7 separate regions of the Homo sapiens genome follow, and all the other regions are linked to region 1. The links are contacts of gene promoters, found by promoter capture Hi-C in blood cells and fetal thymus (Javierre and others, 2016). All regions are on one chromosome and are shown on one strand. Each heading gives the region's core, a stretch centred on a gene start or on the middle of the fragment in contact. The rest is flanking DNA. Distances are from core to core; before and after follow the strand shown.

Region 1 (4,321 bases), core at 856-3,355:
AAATGTTGGCATTTTTTAATCCAAGTGTGAGTACTTCTCTATTTTCAAATGCAGATTCCTCAGAGCAACTCCTTTCTCTCTTCCCCAGTTTGCTCCTCAACTTTCTTCCCCAGACTAGCCTAAACACTGCTGCTAACATCCACCCAAATTAGATACTAAAAAAGCCCACCATGATTAAACTGTAAACACTTTCCACTCTAGCAATGAGGAAAATTATTCTTTCTAATTCTTCCATAGTGACAACTCAGATAGTCAATCATCCGTTTCCTAATCCAGTCCTGAAGCACAGAAACAAAATGAGTGAATGTCCAAATCAAGGAATAGGGTTGCGTAAAGCAGCAGTTTGGAGAGATAGCCAGGCGCCACCACAGGCTGCCAGGAAAGTTACCTCCAGATGATATTAATTATGAATATTTATGCCATCAGAAGTTATGCATCGAACCCTGGATTTGGATGAAGAGCACTAATAAGGTCATGTTAAAATATTTTTTACATATTTAAGATATAATAATCTGATCAGGTCTGCCAGGGTCATGTTTCATTAATCTAATCAATGTTGATAAATGAAATTTTTATTCATTCTCTTTAGGACACAAGTAGATTTTTCTAAATGTTCATATGGACTTTAAATGATATTTCTATGTTATCATACGCTAAAACATTGATGCCTAGCCTAGTGCCTAAGACATTACAGAGCTCAATAAATATGTGTTGAATGATGAACTATCAACTTTTTGGTCACTATGGGCTTCCTAATTCAATGATTAAGTGAGTTTGATATGCTCTGGCTTGTGAAGATGAACTAAAAAGTGTCAGAGGCTGTGCCCTTTTCCCTTCATAGTAGAGCAGAACCTCTATCCCCAGCACTCACGTCCACTCGGTTACATGTATGCCTCAGTGTCCCCACCAGCCAAACAACAGCAGCCAAGCGTTGCCTTTCATCCACTTGGGCAAGATACTTCAATACCATATCTGGTTTTTAAGGCACTCAGGAAAAAAAAAAATCAATCAAATAAATACTTCTGTGCTTGTGCTTGTACTGCAGCAGTCTGTTCCTCCTGCATTTGGGAAAAAACAGAATTGTATTTTTAAGCATTCCTTAGACTTCGGCTAATTATATCCTACCAAGTGCTGAATTGCCTTACACTAGGAACGTGAAGTCAATAAGGGCCAAGAAAAGTCCGCAGGAGTTGGGGAACAGAAGAGTGGAGCTAGACAATAATATTAAGAAAATAGTCACCTTCATACAGGAATTCCTCAAGCACATGGAGTATGTAAAAAGCATACTTTCTTTTTTATTTATACTCCTCCCTCAACTCCACCCCAACTTCAATAAAAAAGAAATATAAATATACACTTAATGTTGAACAATCATGGAAGACAGACTTTCCCTCTCCAGAAGTGTCCTAGCATGTTATCTACTCCTGAGTCTTGAACTTCAACAAAACAAAGAATCTCTGAGTTTTGAGCTAAAATATGCTTTACTGAAGGTAGGTACAAAAACATTCAGACCACTAACGGCTGATCCAGAACCAGTTTATGACTCACAGATGTTGATTTACTGGTATAAATGTAAGATTTAGAAAAAAAAAAAAAAAAAAAAAAGCCCTCAATTAACAACAACCTGTCTGAGCTGCATTTGTGGTCTCATTTTTCTCTGAGAAAAGGCAACAGTCTCTGTCATACACAGAAACAAGCTTTGAAAGCTTACTTCTAAGGCAAGTGGTTTCTATGTGAGAAGTTTAGTCATTAAAAGTCACACTAGGGAAGAAAAATGCCTGGCACTTCAATATCTACATTATCAAGCAGCAATAAAATGGAAAATTAGAGATAGGAAGGAAAATTAAAATAACTCTCTTAATTAAACTTGGATGCCAAAAAGCCTTAGGGTCAGTTAAGGGACCCAAGCCAGGGGACTCAGATGGTACTGTTGCTGACTGCAGGCTGGCTCTGTGACCTCACCAAAGCCACTTAACCTTTTTGTGTCACAACCTCATCTCTGTTTCAGGGAATAAAATCAGCCCTAGCTCTCCCTAGAATGGAACACAGACTCATTGGCTATTGTTTAGAAGGCACAATAAACAATGAGGGTAGGAGGAGCTGCAGTCAGGAGGGAAGAAGGGAGGGTGGGGTGGGGTTGGGGGAGAGGGGAGGACTTGGGAGCCTGTTTGCCCTGGAAAGCTCAATATAAGAAAACAAAGAGGATAGTAGTGTGGGCTTTGGAATAAGACTCAGGTTCAAATTCTTACTCTACCAACTAGCCAGCTGAATTGCCACAGGTAAGTCATTTAAACAATCCCGAACCTCAGTTCCTCCATGTTTCAACTAGGGATAATAGCAGCACACACCTTTTAAGGCTATTTGAATGATTAAATGAGATAATGTATGCAAAGAATTTAGCACAGTGTCTAGGTGAGAATTAGTATTTGATTATTGTTATTAAGATCTAGTATACGGTAGAATATGTGGGAAATCACATTAAATGTCTGTCTACAGCCATCTCTTTGCAGAATAGCTTGGATGCTCAATTTTCCTGAACGATCTCCAGCGAGAGATAGAACAACTATCACCACATTTCATTTAAAAATCTCTTCAAGACCCTTCCTCAGTTCTTAAACTGGCAACCTGCCCAGCATCAGCCTCACTTGAGAAATTCGAGAACTACCTGATTGGAGAAGAGAACTAGATTTATATTTGTTTTGAGTCACAGAAAAGTGACAGTTTAAATTCTGAAAGAAGATCACATTTGTAGTGCCTCTTTGGAGACAAAACCTTAGGTCTTGGATTTGTCACATGTTAGAGCTCAATGGGAGTTTATCAGTGCTCTCCAAGTCCAGCACTCCTATTTACCAGAGGTGAAAAATGAGTGTGAGTGAGGAAATTATTATTTCCAGGGCCACACAATCTAAAAAAGTCAGTGTCAGTACTAGAACCAGATGCCCTGATAGCAGTTCTCTCCCTGGCATCTCCTTGCATTTACTTTGCATTTCACTTTGGCAGGAGAAGTACCAGACACCCTTGAGACACAAGACAGGATACAATGGACATGGGAGTAGATAGATGAGCAGACTCAATTTCTAGAAATCCAACTTCTCTACACTGGATGTATTGTCTTTGGGCAAATACATTGCAGGATAACCACACTATGGTTCCCTGTGGGAGACAGCTTGGCATGGGCTGTCAGGAGAGAAAGGGCCTGGGTTGGCTCTATTGCTGTCTGCAGTTTCTTTAGACTATAATTATGAACCATTCAACTGCATCTGCAGCCCCAACAATGTGGGGTGGATTGGCCTAATCCACAGACCAAGCGACATTTTAAAATCCAGCAGTTTAGACACGTATTCCTCTTGCAGCAAATCAAACATGGCTCAGACAGGAAGAGGTAAGGAGCTGCCCAAGGTTAGAGGGTTCTGAGGTCTCATCCACACTCAGTGTTGTGTGCTTCCCTGAAGCAGGCTGAGCATGTTGCCTGGAATTGCTGCAAATGCAGAATGCAGGCTACTCTGTGAGCCTTTGGGGATCATGTAATTGGGATTCCAATTTAAATTGTCCTGAATTGGACTCTTGAGGAGGTAGAGGGATAATGGCAATAGCACAGATGGCAAGAGAACCAACATCCTTTAATAATATGAGAGAAGAGGACAGCCAGTCTCCTAGAAGCTCTGCATCCCAGGGCTACAGGATTTCACCCACTGTCCAAGGCTGCAGGTGGTTTCATCCTGGTGGAAGGCTAAGGCCTTCCTCTGATCTTACTCTGCTTTTCTCTTGGGTTACAAAGACAACATCAAACTTCAAAACAGATGTTCTCTGCAGTTGTGGTTTGAATCTTACATTAAGACAATTTCACTGTGGAATCTTTTCCCCTCTCCCCACTACTTTCATTTAAAATGCCAAATCAATTGCCCCAAAAGACTAACATTTACCACCCCAGAGATCAAGAAGCAGAGATAAGTGGAGCACAAAAAGGAGAAATAGCCCTGAAAGGAAAAGGGACGGTGGTACAGGAGGAAGTAGTGGAAGGGAAGTCCTCTGAGAACAATGGAAGTGTAAGTCGAGGACAGAGAAGGGGAGGAGATGAGGAGGTAGAGTCACAGTGATTTTATGTTCTTGTCGTTCTGGGACTTCAGTCCCCAAGATTTCAAAATGCAGTTAAGACCTAGTAAAGTATCCCATACTTTAATTAATTGTCTTGCATGGCCAACAGTCATGGAACTACAGAAAACAGATCAATGGGAGGTCCTCATGCTGGAAGAGATGCAAAGGATCCAGGATAGAATGGAGGTGAAAGGATCTCAGGAGGTCACAGAAGACACAAGGGAAG
Region 2 (4,321 bases), core at 984-3,483, 420 kb before region 1:
GCTGTAGAGCTATTCTCACTTCCCTGTGCTGGAATTTCTCTCATTTCTGTTTTTTATGCCTCAGTCCTTTCTCTGTTGGGAATACCCTTCCCTTTCTCATACATTCTTTGCCTGATAGTGCCTATTTGTCCTTCATACTTTACTTGGACATCACTTTGTCTAGGAAGCCCACTGTGATTTTCCAGAATGGCTCTGACATCCAACTAGGGTACTTTTAGACCTCTTCCAGCGCCATTGCACTCTCTTGTCAATCAATATACTTGATTTTTTCTTTCTTTTTCTCTCTAGACATGAGCTCCTTCAGGGAAGAAAGGTCTGTTCCATCTTTATATCCTATGTATATGTCATGTAAGGTGTTCTAGACAAATTTATTAAATTAATAATTATATGAATGTATACAGTTTTCTAAAGGAGTAATTTAACGTTTTAAAAATGTGTACTTTGATCAAGGCTTTAATGTAAATGTATGACAGAACTGGAAGTAAAAATGACTTAACTACTGACTTATCCCTGCCTTTTTTAAGAATTATGTTACTTATTCTTGGGGAGCATATGTATAAGTATTCATGTTTTATTCAACAAAACATTATTAAGTGTCTTACGTGACAGGAACATGATAATGTATGGGGATAATAGTGGACAATATGCCCTATCTTCCAATTTTTCCTTATTTCCTAATCATTATTTGGTTTTCAGAAATGTATTTTAGTTGTTGGATCTGTGCTATAGGGCAAAAAGAAAAAAAGTAAAATAGATTTTGTTTTCAAATTTTTTGCAGGAAATAATTTTCAAAATTTTTTGTAGGTTTTGCAGAGTGCCTCCAGAAATAAAAGTGTTACAAAAGAATCACTTCAGAAAACCTACACTTAGAGAGTCCATTTGAAAATTGCCCTATTTGAAATGAAGTGGAGATCAGTAATAACAAGGACTTCCCCATATAACCCAAGGTAAAACTAAATGCAATGCCATTTCCAGCAACACATTATGAGAACGGGATGTCTTTGGCTTTTAGCTTCTTCTCCTGTTACCTCCTTTCCTAATTCTTAATATTTAAGCCAGAGCCAACTCTGCAAAGTTTAGCAGAGCAATCAAAATTATGAATTTTAATAGAATGTAATTTGAAAGATTTTTGCCTTGTGAAATAGGTATTATTTGCTTACCAGCACTATCTGTAGCATCTAAAGTTCTAGAGTTTTCTTGAAGATACTTATAATTTTTCCTATCACAGTCCCATTACAAGGGTAATATAGTTTAGTTTATGCTGGTTTTACTTTTTTAAAAATCAGTGGGCCAAGTGTTTGATTTAGTAACTTGGAAAAAGGTTCATATTTTTTGAGTCTCCTGGAAGCTCAAAGCATATTTTTCAGGGTACAATTTAACCTCTGAGCTATTTGGTTTAAACCATTTATTTATCTGTGGTTAGGATTAGAGTTTGACTTATAGTAGCTTCAGGAAACATGTTCTGGACCTTTACTCTTGACCAATTTACCTTCAAATCCAAACCTGAGGATGACTGATTAGAATAGTCTGTCAACTTTTCAAAGCAACAGTGCTTCATTCTTTTTCAAGAAGTAAGGTAAGGGAGAAAGATATTTCACTGCACATCAAAATAAATAAAAATATAAATCTTTCATTGGGTTGAAAAATATTTGTCCTGGGGAGAGTTTAGACCCAGCTCATCTCACTCCATTGTGCTATTCAAAAATAACAGTCAGAGGTTAATATCGTGGCCAATTTCTATCTGAATAGCACTAAGGTGAAGGAAACTGTTCTCCCCAGAGCAAGAGGGCTTTGGGACTCACATCTTAAAGATTTAAATGACCACTTTAGAGTTATCAGGAGTCCTGTGAGAAGAAATCATTTTAATTCTGCATGTTGCATAATGCTCTTGAAGCTTATATTCTAAAGAAGATGACAGTCCATTAAAAATAGTTTGACTATATATAATTTCAGATGGTGATAGAGATGAATTACAGTACGAAGCAAGGTAATACAGAAAATCATAGCATGAGGAACTAGAGTTAAATAAGTTGGAAGAAAGAATCTGGAGAGAATTCTGAAGGATGAGAATCTAGTCACCGGGCAATTTGGGTTGAGTATACCAGGCAAGGAACAGCAAGTGTAAAGGCTGTGGAATGGGAATAGGTTTGGGACACGCAAGAAGAAGCAAGCAAGCGAATACAGCTAGAACATAATAAACAGAGAGAGTGATTGGACGTATAGGTGAGGGGCAGGTCACATAGTATCTTCTAGGCCCTCAGTCAGGAGTTTGTATTTAAGATACAAAGAAAAGTCATTGGAGAATGTTATGCAGGAAACTTGATATCATATTTATTTATAAAGGATAATTATGTCTGCTGTGTGAAAAAGGGTCTGTGGGAAGTCAAAAGCAGTGTCAGGTAGACCAGATAGGACTGAGTGAGATAGGTGTAGCCTGGTCAGAGACCAGGTGAGAGGCTGCAGCAGGCTGGGCTAGAGATACAGCTGTGCAGGTGCAGAGAAGGTCCTGGATTCAGAATACATTTTGAAGACAGAACTGACAGAACTTGCTGAAGGATTAGATTTAGAGAATGAAAGCTTTTGGCCTGAATCATTGGGTGAATGATGATAATACTTATTCATTTAGAAACAATAGAGAAAGAAGCAAGTTTAGAAAGAAAAAAATAAAAGTTTTGTAAGTTTTGTTTTTGTTACATGAGTTTAATGTACTTGACAGCCAAGTAAAACTGTCAAGTAGGCAAGTAAATTTTCAAGTTTGAATTTATAAGAGTTTAGGGATAAAGCTATATTTCTGGGAGACATCACCACATAGATAATTAATATTTAAAATAAGGTTGCTGGGTGAAAGCAAAAATGTAGCTAAAGAACAGCAGGGTAAGGACTGATCTCAGGGGATGCCAGCATTTAGAAGTCAGAGAGAGAAGGGGATTCAGCAAAGAAGAACTGGAAGAAATAAGCAACCAGGTAAGAGAAAAAACCGGGGAGTGGGTTGTTCTAAAGTCAAATGAAGAAAGTGCTTGGAGGATGGGGTAGTCTCATGTCAAATGCTGTATGAAAATTGAGTAAGATGAAGAGAGAATGGTTGACTGGATTTAGTGAGATGAATGTCTTTCGTGACTTTGACAAAAATGGTTTCAATGCAGTGGTTGGAAAAAATCTTGATTCAGATGGGTTGGAAGGGAAAGCATTTCAAGGTGATGACAATGACTATGGACAAATCATTTGAAGTTTGTTTGGTGTGAAGTGGGAAGAGAAATGAGGTGGAAGTGAGAGGTTGTGAAGCTGTACAGGGATTAAGAGGGGATCTTTTTGTGTTTAAGATGGAAACTATTACCCTGTGTGCTGGTGGAATTATCCAAGGGAACGGAAAAAGTATACTTTTAACTTGGGATGAAATTTTTTCGGGAGGAAAGAGTGGATGGTATCTTGTGCATAAGTGGAGAGAGTGACAGAGAGAAGGGACCAAGTCCTGAAGCACGGCTAAAAAAAAAAAAAAAAAAAGCTGTTAGAGACCACTCCATATGCAAAGAAAACACTCCATAAGAGGGGCACTTTGTCAAAATCCCAGCCGTAGGCTTTGATCCTTGAAGTAAACAGCAAAGATAGAAACTAGAGCAAAATGGGAATAGAGAGGACAGTCTTCATGTGTGTGAGGGATAGGCAAATTGTACTTAGTGAATGTAGCGACTCCCTATTTCTAACGATAGATCATTTCTAGATTCACTGGTGAGGTCAAGCTCCCTTTGAAGCAGACTTAACACAACTGAGCTTTCCCACTGCAGTACTTTGGCGCAAGCTGACAGAGGCAGTACCAACAGAATTGATTATCAATACATAGTGTTTGTATTTACACTAATGAATAATTAGCTTGTATTGATTGGTTTGTTGATGGGTATAAGAAAGATTGTGAATATCATCCTCTTAATAATCTGATGGGTTAAAGTCAGGCATTGCTGCCAGCATCTGAAAGCAGGAGGAACCAACCTCAAAGTATAAAAGTTAACGAGGATAAACCCACAGGGGATCAGAAACCTCACAGATCATCCTAAGGAGTATCATCACAATGAGAACAGCTAAGAACTGCTAGCTATGTAACATAGTTTTACAAAATAAACGCAGCTGTTACATATTTTTAAACTGTAACATTTTATTTACTGTTTTTCACTTCTAAAACTGAGAATTATTAGGTAGTACAGAAATGTCACTAAAACATTTACACACTGTTCTACCAACTATTATAAGTGAATAGCCTTATAACTCAACAAAGATAAAAATAATGCAACTAAAATAACTCCATTCTCCTGCCCTTTAATCCTTTCTA
Region 3 (4,321 bases), core at 1,259-3,758, 350 kb after region 1:
TGGGGCAAGACGAAGCAAACGCCCTGATGGTGGATCTCTATGCCTTGCCCTGACCATGGGTCTCCATGCCATTCAGAAGGAGCATCTGATTTGCCCTGAACCACAGTTGCTCACCTGAACCACAGCTCCTGGAGCCCTGGGAGTGGTAGCCATCCCCCCACACCCCAACACACCCCAAGTAAGAATGGCACAGTAACTAGCACTGAGTGACTCGGGGGTATCTTCTCCCAGCATCCACTTTTGGGTAGGGGGAAAGGGATGAATCCTCTGCGTACAACTGTCACCATCATCTGCATTTTGGCATCTCCCCCTATTTTCTCCCACAAGCCCCTCTAAAAATTTCGCTGAGGGCAGAGAACTTTTTTCAGAAATGCAGCTCCAAGACTAATGCTCATAGTTGGACGGTGTGGTTGTGATTTTTTTCTGGTGGATAGTATTTCCTCTCCTTGACTCCAGCTCCAAGGGAGGGGTGGTCTTGTTTAGTGATGTGGAAAACATGCTTGGCAGCTGCAAGAGTCAGACAGGAAGAGCCAAGCAGTGTCCACTGGCGAGTCTCATTGATACATGACTTCATCACCACAGCCTCATGGGTTTTGCAAAACTAGCTCACTGACATGTATTCAAACACAATGAGACTGAGTTGCATCTTTGCTTCATGCAGCCACAAATCTACAAGCTGTTTCCCATCCATACATAAGGCATCCCAGGCCACTGCTCTCTACAGATTCTGACCTGTGAATGCCCTTCTTTGATTGAGGAAGGGCAGCCATGCAGATGACACCACTGGTAGCAAGGCACATCACCTAACAGGCCCTCCAGCTCCTAAATGGAACAGGACAGAGGGACTCTGCTGGAAGAGGCTCTTCTACCTTTGAGGCCTCATTTTCTTGAAAGCTCCTGTCTGGTGAAAGAGTGATGGTAAAATCCAAATGTGTTTGTGACAGAGGAGAACTGGATAATCCACTGAGATGACAAGAAGGAAAGAACATTGCTATATATTCTCACAAGGGAAAGGTTTTGAGAAAGCCACATGCAAGAGATAAAAATGCTTTCCCTCTGAAACCTTGCCTGCCACTGCAGATGAAAGCATCTCACTCAGTGAGAAATTCCAGGTTGAAGACCTTTTTTTGAAAAAGAAATCGAATTGAATGCAGGGAAAATTTGGATGATTCCATTTAATTCATCCAAAGCTTTTTGAGGGCCTTACTAAATAAAAGGCAGCATGCTAGGCACTTTAGGAGTTGCAACGATAAACAAAACATGGCTCTTGCCCTTTAAGAGTTGAATCTCTTATAGAAGAGAAGACAGTCACAAACATAATAAGGCACAAATGCATAGGAAGGGTTATGAATATACAGAAGTTCTGTCCAGCTGGGAAAATTGGAGAAGCTTCACAGAGAAGGTGCTGTTGGACTGGACACTATAGAAAGATTAAAATTACAGCAGGTGGTCATGGAAGGTGGGGAGTAGAGGAAGGAGAAGCAGCATGGAGGCCAGAGAGTAAAGGGGAGAAAGCCGGGCTTAAAAGAAGATGTGCTGGCAGACAAGGCAGAAGGGCAGGTGGGAACAAGGTGGCAGGATCTGCTGTGCTGGGGAGGGTGACCTTTCATCCTTCCCTAACTGTGGAGACCCCTCCACACAGGCCCTGTGGCCTCCTTCTGGGGCAGGGACCAGCTCTTGGAATGCAGGAGCCAGGGGCCTTTCTGTAGGAGGAAGCTCACCACTTCTCTTTGTTTCTTATTGTCAATCTTGAGGAGTTTTGCCACGTTTTCCCCAGAATTTCATATTTACAAATATTGTTTCATATTTTGACATCCCTAGTAGGTTTTTGACAGATACAAAATGTTTCCTTCTCTAGGATATTGTGCAGACACATCCCATAGCCCAAACTTCACACCCAGAGACACATAGTAGGTTATTCACGGAGCCCTGACACTCACACCAGTCAGAAAGGGCATTACACAAGGAAGAGAAGGAGCCAGAAGCCCTCAGGCTTGGCCTCATTCTGCTCTCTCCCAGGCTTTCTAGAAAAAGATGTGGTCCCTCTGCAGTGCCCTGAGGCCTGCTTGCCTCTCAGAAATGCTCTGGAGACTAAATAGATTCTAGTCAGTTTCCCTGAAGCAAGCGCTTCATCAATGCTAAGCAGCACGGTATTTTTCCATCTCCCCACCCTTAGAGATGAATAGGGTGCCGACGCCGCAGGCTGTTCCCTTTAGGTAGACCGCGTGGAGCGCCCAGTGGACTCGATAGCGCTGTCCTGGGAACAGAACCTTCCCGGACTGTGCACTTTTAACCCTGCAGGTTCTCAGCTGTCTGCCGTCAGAAGGAAAGCATTCACACTCCAGTTCCCAGGAGACTGCAGCCAGGACGCTTGGGTTTCCACCACGGATTCCTCTGCTGAGGGGCTGCTCCGCGGTAACTTTCCTCCCGAGAAGCACAGGAATGAAACGGCGATGAGCCCCGTAGGTGAAGATGATCGTCTGTTCACCTGCAGTTCACAGAACCTTTGATGTTACTCTATCGTCTGGATCTCTTTTGCCTGTGAGGGAGGCAGAGAGGTATTTAGGCATGAGGCAGCAGAGGTTTAGCAAGAGGTGCTCCTGGAGGGCCTTGAACACCCATCCTAAAGGGGTCCTGGTGTTGTCGGTGGTGAGACCAGGGGTCAAGGCTGCACTCAAGCACTAACTCTGTGAACCTGACTGCTCAGTAGTTTCCATAGCTAGGTACCACACCAGCAATCTGAAAAGCCTTGGACCTCCACTCCCCAAGCAGCTGCTTCCTGGAATGAAAAAGAAAGGTTCATAGATTCACAAACTCCCTGCATTGGAAGGGAATTTAGAAGTCACCTCTGGCCTGCCCATATTTCCTGTGCTTTCTGCCTCAACAACATCCGCCCAAACACTCCAGCCTGCAAGAACCTTCTTCACACCTAGCCCTCGGGGCCCAGCCCTCTGGAGGTGCGCTCCCACCTGCTCCAGTGAAATAGGACCATCACCTCCTTCATTCTAGACATCATGCTCCTATTAATGCCCCTTAGAATTCATAGGGTGATTTGTATTGAGCTAGAAGTGACTTGTTTCATTTACAAGTGCTAAAGAACCCGTACATCAGGAGGCTGAGGCAGGAGAATCATTTGAACCGGGAGGCGGAGGTTGCAGTGACCGAGATGGTGCCATTGCCCTCCAGCTTGGGCAACAAGGCAACAAAAGTGAAACTCCATCTAAAAAAAAAAAAAGAACCCATGTGTCTCCCAGCCTGCACCTTCATGGCTTGTTGGCAGTTAACTTGCACAAGAGAACACGGATGATAGATAGAGAACCAGGGCTCAGATCCCAGACTCCACCTCCACTGTGCAATGGAAGCATAAATACTAAGCAGATCATAAAGACAAAATACTCTCTCTCAGTCTTCGAACATTCAAGAATTGGGGTGAGGAACTTGGCAAACCTCAGGGAAGACCTAAAATGTCTCCACCCCAGTGCCTGGGCTTGGTGGTGAAATCACAAGGGCAGGTTGGAGAGTGCCTCCTCTTTTTTTTTTTCCTTTTACATTTCTCTCCTTTTTGACACATTTGGAAAAAAAAAAAACCTGATAAGGTCTACCAAAAAAAATGTGGGCAACTTACTAGAAGCTTAAAGAGTAAATATATAAAAATAAATCTCTGGGAAAGGCTGGTGTGTATATAGGTCGTCTGAGCACTGTGGCAGAGATGGCTGTCTGGTAGGCTGGATTGATGAATACAAATAGGGCAGGAAGACAGGCCAAGAGCCCCACGGTGGCTTCACCACAGAAATTCTACTTTTCATTCTGAAGATGTGGCCTCACTGCTTTCCTGACCTCTGTCCCCAGCAAGCAGAGGGGAGACAGCAGCCTCCCAAAGCCTTCTCCATGAAGGCTTCCAACCCCCAAGTCAGCGGTCACGCCCTCCTCCCCTAACTCTCGCACTCTTGCAGGACTTTGTTGCTACTTCTCAGGTTGCTTTTATCTGTGATCATGGCTTTCTCCTTTACTGGCTTGAAGTCCTAGGAGGAGAGTAGGGACCTCCTCCGAGTCAACATTGTATCTCCCAAAGATCCTCACACTCCAGAGCTCCCAAGAGTGATGCCTGTCCAAAGAATGAATGAAGGATGACTAAAATTGTGTCTTCCCTTTTCTTTGCCTCACCCAACCTGCTAGTCCAGGATGCCTGTTCCCCTGCAAAGTGTCACCACCCTGACCCAAGAAAGTCTTTTCCAAGAGGTGCCCTCTGGGGTCTCACACGTACTCAAGATCAAGGCATGAGGTGCTCAAGGTGTCAGATCCACAGAGCCCACTGCGCCTT
Region 4 (4,321 bases), core at 1,100-3,599, 330 kb after region 1:
CTTTCTTGACCAAGGTCAGTGCCCTCCCCTGGGCTGGGAGTGCCACAAGTGCAGGGACCTGTCAGCTGCATCCCTATGTTATACCCAACACTGCTCACTGGGCCTCAGGGCTCTCTCCAAATAGAGAAGGCCAGGGGAGAGAGAAGCTATTTTTTTCTCTAAGTTGTAGCTGAGCTAGTTTTTCACTTGCTCACTGAACTAATGACCAAGCAAACATCCAGGGATGGTGTGGACACTGCACATGGTGGATTCATAAGTGCCAATGCTGACAGGTGGCAAGGACGAGTGCCTGTGCAATGGCTCAGGATGCACCTGGGAGCATTGTCCCCATCTTGTCTTTTTAAGTTAAGCTTAGATTTTCTACAGTGAGTAATAGCACATAGATCTCATGTATTTTGAACTCAATATTGTGCCTGAAAACATACATAAAAATGTGTTTCTGGGTATTTATTTACATTTTTAAAAACTACCTAATTTTAGCATTTATTGGCTTAATAAAGGGTTTAAAAGTTTTAAAAAGTGCAAGAGCAGCTAAACCCTGTGCAAGAGCTTGGAGAAACTGAAGAAAATGTAGATAAAATAGAGTGGGCAAAGGGAATGCGAGAAGCTCCACGATGGCGAGAGATGGGGAGGGATGGGGCAGGATGGGGAGGGATGGTGAGGGAAGGCGAGGGTTGGGGAGGGATGGCGAGGGATGGCGAGGGATGGGGAGGGATGAGAAGGGATGCGGAGGCAAAGAACACTGGCAAGTAAGAGCAGCTAAGAATGAAGAGACAAGGAAATGCATGCTACAGACCAAGCAGAAGTGCCCAGAGAAAAACATCCACTCCTTAAGGAGGTTCGCAACACAGCAGTGAGCCCTACCATGAAAAACAGGCAAGAACAGTTAAATGTCAACTCTGCACCACCATATTTGATTGACGATTAACAACTGTTCAAATGGCACGTGTCTCCGTGGCAACAGCTAGGGTTTGTTGAAGGAGTGAATGGAGGAATGAATGAAAAATGGGAAGGGCACATACTTTTCAGAGTTATTTGAAGGTGAGGGAAGACAAGATGTATAAAAGAGACTGGCCAATAATAAATGTTCCATAAAGTTTTCTTGAAACTAGTTCAGTTGGGGTAATTTTCCTTCTCATCCATGGACCAGAAATCACTGACATTAACAGATCTCACTGTGTTCCAGGCGGTCTCCAGGGGTAAACTCAGTAGTTTACGGAGCGTCTATGTCACTCTGTGACATAGACAGCATTACTATTCCCAGTGTCTAAAGGAGGAGATCAAACACCAGAGAGGCTAAGTGATTGATCCAAGTTCACAGAGCTAGAAGGTTAGAATTTAGTCTACTATAGGACTCAGTTGGTAGCTATATGTCTACCTTGGGTTTAATTATTGGAAGAAACTCATTAAAACTCATCCTTTCCCATGTGACTTTGGCACAGACCTGAAAGGTGGTAGTGTATTTGCTACCAGACCCCCATGCCACCAGGCAGGTCACCCCTCTTATGTGATTGAAGGCACATAAGGGGTTGATTTCACTCTACAGGATTGGGGTTAAATGGTTAGTCCCTTCTAGGCATGGAATTCCCACAGGGGAAAAGGAACAGACACTTGTTGAATCTCTGTCACATACCAGCAACTGTGGTAGGGGCTTGGCAGAAATTATTTCATTCAATCTCACAGCGACCCCATGAAGTAGGTCTAATTTTCTCTGTTTGACAAGGAAGGGAACTGAGGTTTAGAGAATTTTAAAAACTCATATGAGGCAGAACTGGGGTAGGAACGCAGCTCTTTTTGAGACAGGGTCTTGCTCTGTTGCCCAGGCTGGAGTGCAGTGGCACAATCATAGCTCACTGCAGCCTCTACCTCCCATCTCATGGGATCCTCCCGCCTCAGCCTCCCAAGTAGCTGGGACCACAGGCAAGTGCCCCACTCCGGGCTAGTGTATTGATTGTAGAGATGAGGTCTCACTAGGTTACCCAGGCTGGCCTTGAACTCCTGGCCTCCAGCAATTCTCCTGCCTCAGCCTCCCAAAGTGCTGGGATTACAGCCCCGAGCCACCGCTCCCGGACAGAACCCAGATCTTAACCTGATGTCTCCACGCCAAGTTCCCTAAAGATCTGGCCCAGAAGATGAGTGAATTCCTATGTCTAAGGCAGGAGGGAAAAGGAAGGAAGGTCTGGGGGAAAGGCTGGCCCTCCCTCCTCACCTCCCTTCCCTGCGTGCCCTCTCCTGGCTAGCCCTCCCGTCTGCGTCTCTCAGGGCATCTGTAGTGGGAGCCGCCTGTGCTGGGCACTGGGGTACGGCCTTCTCAAGACCCAGGGAAGTGGGGGAGCTGGGCAGGAAATTAAAAGGAGCCAAATAAACAGAGTAATTATAGATTGTGATAAGGACTTAGAAAGAAACAGTAACTAGAAGTGACCTTGAAAAGTACCCGTAAGTAGGCACTGGTGCTGCAGACGGCGGGCAGCAAAGCGCAGGCGGGAGAGGAGGCGCGGCAAGGCCCACACTCGCCTCCGCCGGGCCTCCCGCTTACCAGCAGCAGCAGCGCCCCCTGGCGCCTGCCGAGGGCACTGCGCAAGAGAGGTCGGCATTGATTTCAGAAGGGCGCCCGGAAGGACACCTGTCTGGCCCCAGACCGGGCAGGAGCCAGGCCTCGGATTTCTCATCTGTCAGATGACAATGATGCTATCTACTTCCCAGGGCCATCGTTCAGATTAAATGATGCAGTGCTTGGGAGAATCCGGATGGATGAGCGACACTATAGAAACATGACTTGGATTTATGGCAAGAGGGACTTCAGTGAGACATGAAGAACTGTTGACTAGACAGGCCGGCAGGACACTGTGGCAGGTTTCCCGTGAAGAATTCCATACTGACAATGTAAAAGAGAGGCAATGACCGTCTGATATAAGTGCGTGACACTGCACAGGTTTCACTGTGTGAAATGCATACATGAGTTCTTGTAGAAATGAATTGATTTTTTTAAGAAGTGACTTAAGGGAAGGAAGACGTGACTTAAGGAACTCAGGAAGTCTCTGTGCCGTCACTAAGTCAGAGATTCCAGAAGATTCTCTCTGAAGAACAGTCACCAACTGGATTATTGAAAATTAGCCCACTGCCACCTCACGGGTGGGCCTTGTAACCCACATCAGCTGGACCAAGGGGCCTGGAGACGCAATAGCCTGGAAACAGGGTGACCCCAAGGGGCAGGCGGGATGCAAGCACAGAGGAAACAAGAAAATGCTGAAGGAAGCTGCTCAGAAAAGTGGAGGCCAGGTGGCTCTGAAACCCAGGTGTGACCACAGAGGAAAGTGCCCTGAAGGCCAGAGACCCAGCTCCAATTACCAGCTATGTGACAGGGGCACGCCCAGCCCCTTTCCTGATTTTCAGAATTTCCCTATCTGGGAGACGAAGATCATGTCGCCGGGGCCTGCCTGTAATACTTCAAAAAACACAAAAACACTCTATGCACCATGTAGAGGATTATTTTTGTGAACTCCAGGGCAGGGAGCATCAACAGCTCAGAGGCAGCACTGGCATCTGCCTCAAGTGTCCTGCCTTCTCTCCATCCCCAGGCACAAGCAGGGCCCACGAATGCCCAGCATCTGCTCTCCAGTCACTGGTGAAATATGGGTGGCATTCACTGTGTCAGCATTTGGAAATTAGCCCGCCTGTGGTCTGGCTGTTGGCGTCCCTGGGGCTCCCTAACCCACATGGCTACGCAGGCAAAGACAGAAACTCTGGTGCCGCCAGCTTCCGCCCGAGGCGCTTTTCTGCGTGGGGTGCTGACTGAGCAACTGAAGCAGGGCTGCAGCATTCACTGGCAGCTGAGACCCAGGATTGGGGGCCCTAGTGGGGCTGGGGTCAATGGGGATGGTACCATGGAGGGGCATGAGCTGGGACATTTAGAACAGAAAGAGAAACATGCCGAGTGAGGAGGCAAGATGTGAGCAGCAGGGCTAGCGGGTATCCCTGGGACCTCAGACAGAAAGGAAGCTGCAAGGGAGCTTGTACCCAGTGATCACAGGCTCATTTATGGGATAGACCCAGGCAACCTGAAGAAAGGCAGAATCAGAGCAATAGCCAGAGGTGACTGTCGTCAGAAACATACCCCTGCTCCTGGGAGCCACTGCAGAGCGGGATAACTGGGGCTCGCCTCCCTGGTGCAAGCCCAGGAGTGAGGGCCTTGTGATAAGATTTCCAAAAACACCAGCCCCGTGCCCTGCCTGTCGGTAAGCGGCCACCGGAACCCCTCCCAGAAAGATAGATGCAGGCTCCGTGTCTGTAGAAGTTTGTGTCCATTTCCCGCTGAAATGGA
Region 5 (4,321 bases), core at 638-3,137, 330 kb before region 1:
TGTTAATATAAAATATGGATATGTGTATATATACACATTATATAGATATATATAAAATAGAGGCAGAACTGACTTTTCTCTGCTTTAAACTTTACTGTAGCTACCAGAATGCTTTTGCATATAGTAGGATCTTATTAAGCATCTGTTGGTTGATTGACTAGCTAATTGTCTAGCTGGTGGGCAAGAAGAAGTAACTTGTCTTCGTATCACAAGGCCAAAAGTCTATAACAAAATGTTAAAGTAAATTCACCAAAACTTCTATTCCAAACAACAAGAAAAATATCTGGAACATATACAAAATTAAAGAGACAAGAAAGAAAGAAACCAGTAAGTACCTTTTTAGTCTAGAAATCTTTTTATTTAAAAAAAAGTTATTTTCTTATTTATTTATATGGCTCCAAACCTAGAGATCAGAAGGTGTTGTATGACTGGCTGGGGATATCAATGAAACAGATTATGATGTATGCATGAAGTGTGCATGCAGGCCAAAGTAGAACTTGATCCTGTGCCTCTCTGACAAAATAGGTGCTACTCACAGCTTTTACTTCCCTTTTGAAAAGGGCACTTCTCAATGAGGGGAGAAAGGGCACTTCTCAATGAGGGGAGTAGGCCAAGGGGGGTCAAGTTTCAGGACAATGTTTCAGCTCTACATGGGGCCTAGAGCAAAAGATCATAACGCACGTTTAGGTCTACACAAGATGTTTCTCAAGAAATGTTTTTGTTTAAAGTTTGTTTCCTACAATTCTCTCACGCACGTGCATGCACGTGCGTGTGCACGCGTGCACACACACACACACACACACACACACACACACAGCTTGTAGACTCTTCGTTATGGGGAATGTCAGGAAACCACACCCTGAAAGATTTTCTCTGTCTTACAATATTAAGGGATCATGACCATATTAAAGTCCCTTCCAGTACAGGGTTTGTCCATGTGAGCTTCTGAGAACAGGCGAGCTGTGGTTTTCTCACTAGCACAGAAGAGGTGAGAACACAGCCTTGGAACCCCTCCTTCTCACCACCGACCCTCATCAAAGGGCGTATGCAGTGCTCACAACCAGTCCTGGATGAGAGGGCTTCAGGCACTCAGGAGAACCAGTATCTAGACCACAGAGCAGCAGGGAGAGTGTGGCCACCTAAAGATGTGAAGGCACCGTAAAGACCCACTTGAATCTTTGCTCACCTCAACGCCATCCAACAATTGAAGCCTGGGCAAAGTGAAACACCCATCTCCTGATTCAGTCTCTTGGCTCTTGGTGAGCCAATGCTCACCTCTTGGCTTGAAGTCAGAGTGAGGGGTGTCAATAGGACTCCCTTATGTCCCACTTTCCCCACATTTCAGTTCCTGGCCCTGGACCCCACTCTCCACTTGACTCCATCCCAGATAGCTGATGCTGGTTCTCCCACATCTCCCCTATCAGGCAGCCAATGCTGTTGCCTAATTTAGCACAGAGTAAATTTATTTTGCCTTTATACTTTTACAATATGTTTAAAAAATGTGGACTCTGTTTCTCAGTTCAAATGTGATAATTGATTATGTCACGTTGAAAGATCAGTTATCTGTGATCTCCTGAAATAGACATATTAATGTTTGAAATTTCTGAAATGATAACACATTTCAAATAGCTTTTTAAAAAGATTACCATTCAGTTGCATGTCCCTGAACTCCTGTGGCAGACAATTCTACCATTTTTCATTTTCTTCCTTTTGCTATGAGGTGGCACTACGTGACCTAGATTTGACCAATGGAATAAGGGTGAAGCTTATATATCAGAATTTCTGGCCTGGCCCCCGGAATCCCATGATCTGCTCTCTGCTTGTTCATGATTTAGCAGATTGAAGAGAATCTGGAGAACTGCAACTCCCTGGAGTCCATCGAGTCAGCAGATGGGGGACTTCTGAGTCCCCACTTCAACAAATGTGATACAATGGACGAAGTATCACTTCTCCACCATTATGGACTGACGTTGTATACAAATATGAACGAGAAGTAGATCTTGCTCCATTAAGCTTCTGAAATGTTAGCATGATTTGTTACAGCAGTGGGCCTTTATTGAAGAATCCTAGCCCATTTCTAGAAATTCCCGTCCTGACTCTGATCCGCTGCACAAAACTCACAAGTTCTCTTGTCCCTAAGGCTATTTCTTTGTGGCTTTATGGTCTTGACCTTCCCTAGCCTCACTGAGCTGTTGCCTGAGCCCCAGCTTTGACAAGAAGTAGCTATCTGTAATATCTTTATATAAATAGCCGGGGCTGAAAGAAAGACTGTGGGAAAAGAGAAAATTCTCCTCCCATACTCATCACTTCCCTCCTCTTACACCCCTGGTTTTAAGTGCCCATATTTTCTAGGTCTGAAATCTCTGTACATCTCTCCATAGAAACCTGATGATTTGTGGAATTATTGTTTAATTTCCTATTCTTTCATAAAAATTTGAGTTCATGCAGTTAGGTAAATATTTATTAAGAATTATCTGCCAAGTGTTCAGGTACTATATTTTTAATTTACTTTAAAAATAATGTACTTTATAAGAACAGACACAGTTTTATTTGAAGAGGTTAAAGAAATCGGGGCAAAAGAAGAAGGCAGAAGAAAGCTCACCTGCAAAATACACACAGTATGACCTGATGAACATGTGAGAGGTAGTCCACAAATTTGACAGTAATACATTTACTTCTTGAAAATAATGTAATTCAAAATCAAAATATTTGGGGATATTTTTGATATTCCATATTTTGTCCTTTCAGGTATTGGAGGTCCGCTTAAATGTGTTTTTCCATTCTGAATGGATATTGAAAAGCTCTCGAAAGCACAGATGCCTGGGCCACCACCAGCTCCTTAAGTCAGAATCTCTAAGGCAGGACAATTTAAAAGCCTTTAGTGATTTTTATGTATACCCAGGGTTGAGAATCACTGTTTTTCTAAGCATCTCCAAATACTGTACGAATTGGCATAAAAATCTCAAATATATTCATATTATGTCAATTAAAAATTATTTCAAAACTAAATATATTCAAGTCAAATATGACACATACACACATACACACACACTCTCATGTGTGTTGAATCAACTGTCACAAAAATCCCATGAAACCTCAACTAGAAATTACACAAAGGGGATAAGGATGATAGCCACCCCTCAGACTGTGAAAATTAATGAGATAATGGGTATAAAGTAAATATCAAACTATCCAATAAATGTCTATTGTTATTGTTGAAATAATAATTAGCAATTAAATATTAATTGACCTTCTTTGACCCCTGAACTCCTGCAGGTCATTTTCAAAACGGCAGCCAGAGTGATCTTTTTAAAATGTAAGCCAGATAATGTCATTCTACTCAAAACTATCCAAGGCCTTTTCATCTCGCATGGAATTAAAATCAGGGTTCTTACCAGGGCCTACAAAGAGCAGTAGGATATGCGCTGTCCTTTCTGATACACTCTCCACTGCAGCCTCCATAGTTCACTTTGCTCAGAGGGACAAGTTCTCGTGTTTCCTTGGACAGGCTGGACATTCCCCACCTTGGGGGCTTTGCACTTGGTTTTTCCTCAGCCTTCAAGGCTCATCCCACAGATATTCGCCTTCTCCTTCTTTATCTTCTGTAAGTCTTGGTCTAAACACTCTCTCCAGAGAGGAGGCTTCCCTCAACACTCCAGCCCCACCTAGGCCTCTTCTTTGCTCTATTTTTCTCCTCCACACATAAAATGGCTTGATAAAAATATATTTGTTTATTTCTTTAGTTATTTTTTCACCTCCCTTTCTCACTCTATTTTTTCTCTACAGTACTTGTAACTGTCTGATAAACTATGCATCCTATATATTCATTTTATTTAGAGTGAGTTCCATAAGAATGCTTATCTTCTCATTTACAACTGTACCTCCAGTAATAAAAAATTGCCAAGCACAAAGTAGGTCTTCAGTAAATATTGAAGTAAGAATTAGCTGTTCATCACAGAAATAAATAAAATTATCTCTGTGGCTGGTCTGATGGATAATTAGGCATTTGTTCTGCAACTTGAGGTGTAATCTTCAAGTTGTGATCCCGTGAAACATGTCGCAGAGCTCCTTACTAATCACAATCTGTGACTCCAACAGTTAAAGCCTGTGAGAACATGGGCACATTAATTAACTCTCTAATCCTATTTTCTGATTTTGAAGTGGAGATAAATCCACTTTATGATATGAGAGTTAAATGAGGTTGACATTTAATTTCTAGAACTCCTCATCTGAGTTTTGTGGTTGCTGTTGTTCTTTCAGGCCAGGGGATGTGGCTCCATCGCATGGAAGATGAGAACTGTGCCTTTGTATCTGGTAATTT
Region 6 (4,321 bases), core at 1,214-3,713, 300 kb before region 1:
CATGCAATCAAAGAATGCTGATTTTGGGCAGGACAGTATTATTCTGTATCCAAAACATGCCACAGCATAGCCTCAGTCTACCATTTCCACCTTCAATCTCATTTCCCAGCACTCCACAACATGTGTGCTGTGGACTCAGCCTGAACTATCCTACAAAATATCTTTGCCTCCATGTCTTTGTTTACCCCAGAGATAAATAAAGTATACATTCTGCCTTCGCATGTTTGGGCTTTCTCCACACCCTTGAATGTCTCCCTTGGAGTTCACAAGGTAGTGTCCAGGCTTTTGGCTTGAGATGTAACATTATTCATCTTTTTCCTCTCTCCTGTATTGTCTCCTTGAGGAAAGAGATAATGTATTCTGATTGGTCGTTTTCTGTTTTGGGTTTTTATTTTTTGTATTTTTCACAACATAAAGAACAATATTTTGCACACAGCAGATGCTCAATAAATGCCTTTTAAACAATGAATGATTTCAATTTCATATAAATGCAAGACTTGTTCTGTGGACTCCACCTTTCAGAAGAGTGGGTAGAGACAGAGGTCACCTCTTCTTATCTGCCTCGGAAGCTTATTGAAAAAAGAAGTGTGCGGCCCAGAAGAAACAAGGGTGCTGAGAGCCTCTAGGGAGAGCCACCTTGGTCCGAAATGAAGAATGCAGAGGTTTATCCTTCAGCCTTGAGTAATAAATCCCTCAAACCTTGAATTATTTTTCACTATAAACAAGAAGGCATTCTCTGAGTACTTAAAAATTCTTGAGATAGCAGCAGGTCATGGGAAGCCATGCAAAGTCTGCTCAGTGCAGGAATCTGATTCTGGGTGTCCCCCTGGGAAACCAATCTCCTGAACCCAAGGAGATCCTCATCTCTGAATTTTTTCAAATAGCCACAAAGGAGACCTAAGTCGGAAGACTTAACCTCTTCTATGCTCAAGTAAGCCCTTAGCTGCAACTGGAATTCAGAGTATTTCCACTTCAGAATATCACACACATTTCGGAGGAAATGGGGGATTGACTTAGCCTGGAAAGATAAGGCATCAAGGAGATCTCAAAGGAGAAAGCAGTTTTTAGCCTCTCCACACAGTGCATTACTAGGGCAATCACCAAACATTTAACACCTGCACTGTGGCTTCAGCAGGGAGCCCTGGCTTCTGCTTGGTTACCCCTGCTGAATTCCCCTCAGCACAAATGAGAACTGGCTGTGATTTCTTTCTCTTTTTTAAATTTTAAGTTATTGGGTGCATGTGCAGGATGTGCAGGTTTGTTACATAGGTAAATGCGTGCCATGGTGATTTGCTGCACCCGTCACCCCATCACCTAGTTATTAAGCCCAGCATGCATAAGCTGTATTTCCTGATGCTTTTCCCCCTCCGACAGACCCCAGTGTGTGTTGTTCCCTTCCTGTGTCTATGTGTTCACATTGTTCAGCTCCCACTTATAAGTGAGAAGAAGTGATGTTTGGTTTTCTGCTCCTGTGTTAGTTTGCTGAGGATAATGGCTTCCAGCTCCATCCATGTCCTGCAAAGGACATGATCTCATTCCTTTTTACGACTACATAGTATTCCCTGGTGTATATGTACCATGTACCACATTTTCTTTTTCTTTTCTTATTTTATTTTATTTTTTTTAAGAGACAGAGTCTCGCTCTATTGCCAGGCTGGAGTGCAGTGGCGCAATCTCGGCTCATTGCAACCTCTGTCTCCTGGGTTCAAGTGATTCTCCTGCCTCAGACTCCAGAACAGCTGGGATTACAGGTGCGCACCACCACACCCAGCTAATTTTTCATATTTTTAGTAGAGACCGGGTTTCACCATGTTGGCCTGGATCTCCTGACCTCGTGATCCACCCACCTCGGCCTCCCAAAGTGCTGGGATTACAGGCGTGAGCCACCGGGCCCAGCCACCACATTTTCTTTATCCAGTCTATCATTGATGGGCATTTGGGTTGATTCCATAGTTTTGCTGTTGTGAATAATGTTGCAATATAACATACATGTGCATGTATCTTTATAATAGAATGATTTATATTTTGGGGGGTATATACCCAGTAATGGAATTGCAGGGTCAAATGGTATTTCTGGTTCAAGGTCTTTCAGGAGTCACCACACTGTCTTCCACAATGGTTAAACTAAGTTACATTCCCACAAATAGACTTAAGATTACACTACAAGGCTACAGTGACCAAAACAGCATGGTACTGATAGAAAAACAGACACATAGACCAATGGAACAGAGTAGAGAACTCAGAAGTAAGACCGCACATCTACAACCATCTAATCTTTGACAAACCTGACAAAAACAAGCAACGGGGAAATAATTCCTTATTTAATAAATGGTGCTGGGAGAACTGGCTAGCCATGTGCAGAAAATTGGAACTGGACCCCTTCTTTACACCATTTACAAAAATTAAATTAAAATGGATTAAAGTCTTAAATTTACAACCCAAAACTATAAAAGTCCTAGAACAAAATCTAGTAATACTATTCTGGAAATAGGCACAGGAAAGGATTTCACGGCAAATACATAAAAAGCAATTGCAACAAAAGCAAAAATTAACAAATGGGATCTAATTAAAGAGTTTCTGCACAGCAGAAGAAACTATCTCAGAATGGGAGAAAACTTTTGCAGTCTATCCATCTGACAAAGGTCTAATATCCTGAATCTACAAGGAAATTAAACATGTTTATGAGAAAAAAAACCATTAAAAAGTGGGCAAAGGATGTGAACAGACACTTCTCAATAGAAGACATTTAAGCAGTCAACAAACATATGCAAAAAACCTCAACATCACTGATCATTAGAGAAATGCAAATCAAAACCAAAGTAAGATGCCATCTCATGCCAGTCAGAATGGCAATTATTAAAGAGTCACGACTTTTTTTTACAAGCCAAGACATCACTTGTCATTGGTTATAGGTCTCTCACAGCTGCCACTAGATATGGCTATTCTCAGAGCCAGTCCTCACTTCAGATTTCGTATCATTCCTGCCTGTTTTCTACCTTGGCTCCACGTGTAAGGGATTGCTTACCACAGGAACATATGTTTTCCCCCTCCTCTGTATCTGTGTAGAGAAATATGGAACATGTATTTCTAAAGAAGAAAAAAAGAACTTTTTTCAAGTACAAGGCCATTTTAATGCAGATTTAGAAAAGTAAAAGTGAAACTTATGTGAACATTTTGAACCTGCCATTACAGATAAAAAATTAATTCAAGAATCATAACTAGCTGGTAAAGTAAACATTTACACAATTGACACATTATAAAAAAATCAAGCAGCAGCTAGGTGCAGTGGCTCACACCTGTAATCCCAGCATTTTGGGAGGCCAAGGCAGGTGGATCAACTGAGGTCAGGAGTTCTAGACCAGCCTGGCCAACATGGTGAAACCCCATCTCTACTAAAAATACAGAATTAGTCAAGCATAGTGGTGCATGCCTGTAATCCCAGCTGCTTGGGAGGCTGAGGCAGGAGAATCGCTTGAACCTGGGAGGCAGAGGTTACAGTGAGCCAAGATCATGCCACTGCACTCCAGCCTGGGTGACAGAGCAAGATTCCATCTCAAAAAAAAAAAAAAAAATCAAGCATAATAGAAGCAATCAACACACAAATAAATCAACAATAGCTAAAACTCCACACAGTAAAATTGTTGAAAGTGAAACATTGGGCAAAGAATCACCTTATGATTAAACAGACAAAAAATAAATTTGATAGAAATCATTTTAGATAGACTGAAAATAAGCAAAATTATACACAGTAAATATTGATGACAATAATATTTGTTAAAATATCAAAATATTCTCAGAAATTTAGGTAACATTTTTAGACATGAAATTTGGACTTTGTAGAAGTTATGGCCACAAAAGATAGTTTACAATTGCATATGGGTAAAAATTGATTTAAATTCAAAGGAGACATTTTTTATAAAATTTACAATAAAAGGGATTTGTCCAGATGAAAACAAGTTTAGTAAAATAATTTTTTTAAAAAAATTGAGGCAATTTAACTCTGGATACCAAATTGATGAAGGAATTAAATAACCTTAATGTCATTTTCTCCAGAAATTTTTTTTCAGTTAAAAAATTATCAGCACTAGTATATGTAAATAGAGTGTTAAAATATACTCAGTCTAAGAACAGGCAGATGTTAATAACTGAGGTGCAAAAAGGGCCAGATGCACTTCCCATGGGGAGTGAGCACAGAGCCAACTTCTTATATAAAACCAGGAGTCGAAACATCCTTCATACACTCTATACTACCTCCCCTGACGCTTCTTCAATGTCCCCCCTCAATGTTTGTCACCTCAGCCTCTGCTGGGGTGATTCCACT
Region 7 (4,321 bases), core at 914-3,413, 290 kb after region 1:
TCTGTATGTTGAAAAGAACTAGGAAACTGCAAGATTTCCTAGGTATTATTGCCAAGGTCTTACTGTCTTCATCGAGAGGCAACTCCTCTTTACCTTCAAAACTCTGTACAGGTCTCTGTTCCTCTCTGATCTAAGATAGAGTGAAGCCACACTATTCTATTCTATTCTATTCTGTATTGTGAATATACATTGTGATTTTTTAAAAAACTGTAAAATCTTGAAATAGTCACAAACTTCCAGAAAAGTTAGAACAGTACGACGAACAATTTTTAGTGAATCATTTAAGAGAAATTTGCCAACCATGCTTCATCAACCCCAAATGCTTAAGGGTATATTTCATTTAAACAACAACCTTTTCCTACATAGTCCAGTATAATCAAGAGAATCGAATAACTAATGCAAGCGGATTACTCCTATGTAATCCCGAGGCACCATGCACTGTTGGCTGATTGTCACCACTGCAGTCTTTTGGAGCAAAAGGTTCCCATTCTAAAACACTGATTGTGTATAGCTGTCATCTACCATTAGTCTCCCTCGGTCTTTCAGGTCTGTGACAATTTTGAATATGACAGGTCAGGTATTCTGTAGAATGTTCCCCAATTTGGGATTGCTGGTATCTCTTCGCGATTGGATTGAGCCAAGGCTTTTCTGAGAGGACCATCGCAGAAGTCATGCTGCCTTCCTCTCCTGTATTCCATTGCATGGTACATCATTTCAACGTATCCCGTTATTGATGAAGTTCACTCTTTGTTTAAGGTGGTGCCTCCCAGCCTTCTCCTTTGAAAAGTTATTCCTTTACCCTTTGTAATTAATAAGTATTTTGCGGAGGTTTACTTTCAAAATATGTAAATATCCCATTCAACATCAAATTGCAAAGTATTCATTCATTTATTTATATCTCTAAGACTCATGGCTCTCTATTTTATTGAGTGGATATGATCTGTTCTTTAATGATTACATTGTCCCAATGGAAGGATATTCACGCTGGCTTCTGTCTCCTTTGACATGTTCCCATCAGTCTTTAAGTGCTTCCTTACTTTCTCGCACAACAACTTATTTTGGAGTTTCTGCCCTAGCCCTGGAATTAGTCATCTCCTCATGGATTCCTAGTTCTTTTTAGTGGAAAATGCTATTTAGAACCCAATACCTGGGGGATAGATGTGCCAATTGCTAATGGGGTGTCCCTGCTCCCAGGCTCCCTCAGTGTACAGAGCCAGGCAATAGACGTAGATACATACATACACATATATTATGTATGTATGTATGTGACTATATGCACTCACGTACATACATACATATACAGTCATGCCTTCCTTAATAACGGGGATACATTCTGGAAAATGTGTCCTTAGGTGATTTTACAGTTGTGAATATCATAGAGTGTACTTCACACACCTAGATAGAACAGCCTATGACACACCTAGGCTACATGGTACAGCCTATTGCTCCGAGGCTACAAACATGCACGGCATGTTACTCTACTGAATACTGTAGGTGACTGTAATACAATGGGAAGTATTTGTGTATCTAAACATGGAAAAGGTACAGTAAAAATATGAGGATAAAAGTTAAAAAATGGTACACCTGTATAGGGCACTTACCATGAATGGAGCTTGCAGGACTGCAAATTAATCTAGGTGAGTCAGTGAGTGAGTGGTGAGTGAATGTGAAGGCCTAGGACATAACTGCACACCACTGCAGACTCTGTCAACATTGTACACTCAGGCTACGCTAAATCTACAAAACCTTTTCCTTTCTTCAATAATAAATTAACCTTAGCTTACCGTAATTCTTTATAAAGTTCTAAATTTTTTAACTCTTTTACTCTTTGGTAATAACATTTAACTTAAAACACAAACACATTGTACAGTATAAAAATATCTTCATATCCTTATTCTATACACTGTTTTTATTTAAAAAAATATTTCGTTTTACTCCTTGAAATTTTTGTTAGAAATGAAGACATGAATTCATATTTAGCCTATATCCTGCCTGAGGCTGTTTTACAGTTAACTTTCTAAACATGTAAGTAGGCATTATCTACGTATATCTAAAATCTATCATTCTAAAATAATGATAAAAATCTATCATTTTAAAGTAATGATACATAAACAGTAACATAGTTGTTTACTATCATTATCAAGAATTACGTACTCTACACCTGCTAGACTTTCATAGACCGTCAGGGAAGTAGGTTTGTTCACATCAGCGTCACCACAGACATGAAGATTGCATTGCACTTCCACAGGGCATGAGCACCGATGTCACTGGGTGATGGGAATTCTTCACCTCCTTTATAGCCTTGTGGCACCACCATTGCATATGGGGTCTTTCACGGACCTAAACATCTTTATGCAGTGCATGACTGTATATGCTTATACATTTATATCTATATTTATTTCTGCTATCTATATGACTATGCATATACATCTATTTCTGTATTTATTTCTACTACCTATCTATATTGAAACCCTGAGTTCACTCAGAAGCATTCATTTCTAATCCAACACTGGATGTTGATTCCCCTTTTGTGTCTGTAATTCCTTTATTTGACAGTGAAAAGAATGGTTTCCATTAGACATCCTATAAGCCCTTCCTTGTCAATCCTTCTGCATGCACCCGGTCTTCCATCTCTGCTGCACCCCTCACCTCCATGCAACGTGTTCATCTCCCTGCATTGGCCCTAAACTCCCATCCAGGCCACCCCACTGCATGGGCACCCTCCTCACCCCACCCCAGGCAGTGCCTCTGTGTGGATGTTGTTCTCACCCTGTTCAAGCTCTGATGCCCCAACCCAGGCAACGCCTCCACAGGCAAACCCTCCTCAACCAGCTGTAGCCCTGACAGCCAGGACAGGCTGCACGCCCTGCGTCCCATGCTCTCTTTACTCCACTTGGGCACTAACACTTCCCATCAGGACGCGCCACACGGAAGCCCTTCTCACCCCGTTCAGGCTCTGATATCACTACCCCCTGACACCTGCCTTGCTGTGCTGCACCCATGGCTCCTGCAGTCAAGACTTCAGTGGGAGGGGGAGGAAGAGGGAAGGAAGGGGAAGGAAGAAGGGAAGATGCGTGCTTACACATTTACAACAGCACATATCTCATTGGGTGTGTGTATGTGTTGCCCATGCATGGCAAAAAGGGACCACAAGATCCATTAAACTGTAGTTTTGCCTGCTTCCATATTCTCTCTCTCACACACACACACACACACACACACACACACACACACGCACACACCCTTGTGCCTTTTGAGATGCAGAATCTGGCAAGCAGTTAGAGAAAGGAGAGAAAGAGATGAAGGAGTAGTTAACCAGAGAGGCTAACAAGATAATAATAAGGAACGAGGCACAGACAAGTGGAGAAAATGAAATGTTAAAATCTTGTTTTAGGTGTGCAGGGGAGAAATTGGAAGTGTGGCTGGTAAGGATGAAAAAGCAATGTTCTGGGTTATAACGTTAATGTTTTTGATAGAGGCTGGGGTGAAGAATGCATGGCTTTTTAATTATTTTTGGTTGTTGTGTTCTGTCAAGAGAGAGTAATACAAGACCCCAGGATCTATTTGTATCTGAAGTCTGTGTCCTCCATTAGACAATAAGGGAATGAAGGGCAGAAACTTTGTCTAACTCTTTCTTTATAAGCCAGTGCCTGGCTTCTAGAAAGATCCAGAACATGTCTATTTGTCAAACTACACCTACTGGACAAAACGTGTCCAAACCCAATACAGCTGCCCAGAAATTCTGAGGGAAGCATGAGCTGTCCGTTCTGCTCAGTTACTGTTAATTCCGGAAATACACAGAGAAAATAAAAATCACGGAAGATGCAGTTAAAGTATGGAGCTAGACCACTGTTAAAACTTGCCAGCAATTTTTACCAATCCAATCTTTGGTGTTAATTGGTTTCCCCAGAAGATGCAATATCTCTTTCCCCACTGATGATTATATTGCCCAGAGCCGCTGGCTTTCAGAAATGTTTAATCAAGCATTGCATATATTCAAGCAATACTTTCCAGACACCTCAGCTTTTCTTGACAGCGTTACCTTCCTTCGCTCTTTCTTTGTCTCTTTTAGGAACATCAAATCATCCAGTGATTTTCTGCATAACTCAAAGTTTTGTCATTTAGAAAAAAAATCATAACAGAACAGATAACCATTAGGAAATCAATTTGCATCAGACATCCATTTGAGAAGTTTAAAATGTGGGGAATGCAAACTCTACCCATAGGGACTTAGTCTGTAGGGAAGAAATATGAACTTGCCACTAATTTCTGAAAAGCAAAATTAATTCAGTTATAGCTAGATCTGCCTTCATAAGGATAT

The links. Contacts are between HindIII fragments. The CHiCAGO score rates a contact against its expected background, and 5 or more counts as called.
Region 2: a fragment that was not itself captured here is called in contact with the fragment with the promoter of ETS1-AS1 in region 1 in 5 of 17 cell types (naive CD8 T cells, total CD8 T cells, non-activated CD4 T cells and 2 more); the score reaches 7.6 in naive CD8 T cells.
Region 3: a contact is called between a fragment that was not itself captured here and the fragment with the promoter of ETS1-AS1 in region 1, in 2 of 17 cell types (total B cells and naive B cells). The highest score is 5.8, in total B cells.
Region 4: a fragment that was not itself captured here is called in contact with the fragment with the promoter of ETS1-AS1 in region 1 in 9 of 17 cell types (total B cells, naive B cells, naive CD4 T cells and 6 more); the score reaches 15.2 in total B cells.
Region 5: a fragment that was not itself captured here is called in contact with the fragment with the promoter of ETS1-AS1 in region 1 in 14 of 17 cell types (total CD8 T cells, non-activated CD4 T cells, naive CD4 T cells and 11 more); the score reaches 36.5 in total CD8 T cells.
Region 6: a contact is called between a fragment that was not itself captured here and the fragment with the promoter of ETS1-AS1 in region 1, in 8 of 17 cell types (non-activated CD4 T cells, total CD8 T cells, total B cells and 5 more). The highest score is 13.7, in non-activated CD4 T cells.
Region 7: a fragment that was not itself captured here is called in contact with the fragment with the promoter of ETS1-AS1 in region 1 in 6 of 17 cell types (activated CD4 T cells, naive CD8 T cells, non-activated CD4 T cells and 3 more); the score reaches 10.4 in activated CD4 T cells.

Annotation. Positions count from the first base shown.
Region 1 is chr11:128,524,037-128,528,357 of GRCh38, forward strand. It overlaps ETS1-AS1 (ETS1 antisense RNA 1), which reads left to right and starts at 2,106. Exons shown (of 4, transcript NR_120581.1): 1 at 2,106-2,279; 2 at 2,497-3,382. The region is part of intron 3 of ETS1 (ETS proto-oncogene 1, transcription factor); the gene reads right to left. The HindIII fragment of the contact is 5,425 bases long and covers 1,705-4,321 here.
Region 2 is chr11:128,100,438-128,104,758 of GRCh38, forward strand. LINC02725 (long intergenic non-protein coding RNA 2725) reads left to right here. Exons shown (of 6, transcript NR_183639.1): 2 at 805-947. Among named protein-coding and RNA genes, the nearest start is that of LINC02725, 6.8 kb to the left of the region's middle. The HindIII fragment of the contact is 683 bases long and covers 1,893-2,575 here.
Region 3 is chr11:128,874,095-128,878,415 of GRCh38, forward strand. No RefSeq gene overlaps it. Among named protein-coding and RNA genes, the nearest start is that of KCNJ1, 9.0 kb to the left of the region's middle. The HindIII fragment of the contact is 2,242 bases long and covers 1,388-3,629 here.
Region 4 is chr11:128,857,477-128,861,797 of GRCh38, forward strand. All of the region lies in intron 1 of KCNJ1 (potassium inwardly rectifying channel subfamily J member 1), which reads right to left. It overlaps LOC107984409 (a long non-coding RNA gene), which reads left to right. Exons shown (of 3, transcript XR_001748442.2): 1 at 1-14. Among named protein-coding and RNA genes, the nearest start is that of KCNJ1, 7.7 kb to the right of the region's middle. RefSeq lists an enhancer at 2,238-2,497 and a silencer at 2,398-2,692. The HindIII fragment of the contact is 4,002 bases long and covers 349-4,321 here.
Region 5 is chr11:128,189,467-128,193,787 of GRCh38, forward strand. No RefSeq gene overlaps it. Among named protein-coding and RNA genes, the nearest start is that of LINC02098, 17 kb to the right of the region's middle. The HindIII fragment of the contact is 248 bases long and covers 1,764-2,011 here.
Region 6 is chr11:128,221,693-128,226,013 of GRCh38, forward strand. The region is part of intron 3 of LINC02098 (long intergenic non-protein coding RNA 2098); the gene reads left to right. Among named protein-coding and RNA genes, the nearest start is that of LINC02098, 15 kb to the left of the region's middle. The HindIII fragment of the contact is 3,793 bases long and covers 568-4,321 here.
Region 7 is chr11:128,816,539-128,820,859 of GRCh38, forward strand. No RefSeq gene overlaps it. Among named protein-coding and RNA genes, the nearest start is that of KCNJ1, 49 kb to the right of the region's middle. RefSeq lists an enhancer at 2,824-3,330. The HindIII fragment of the contact is 6,751 bases long and covers 1-4,321 here.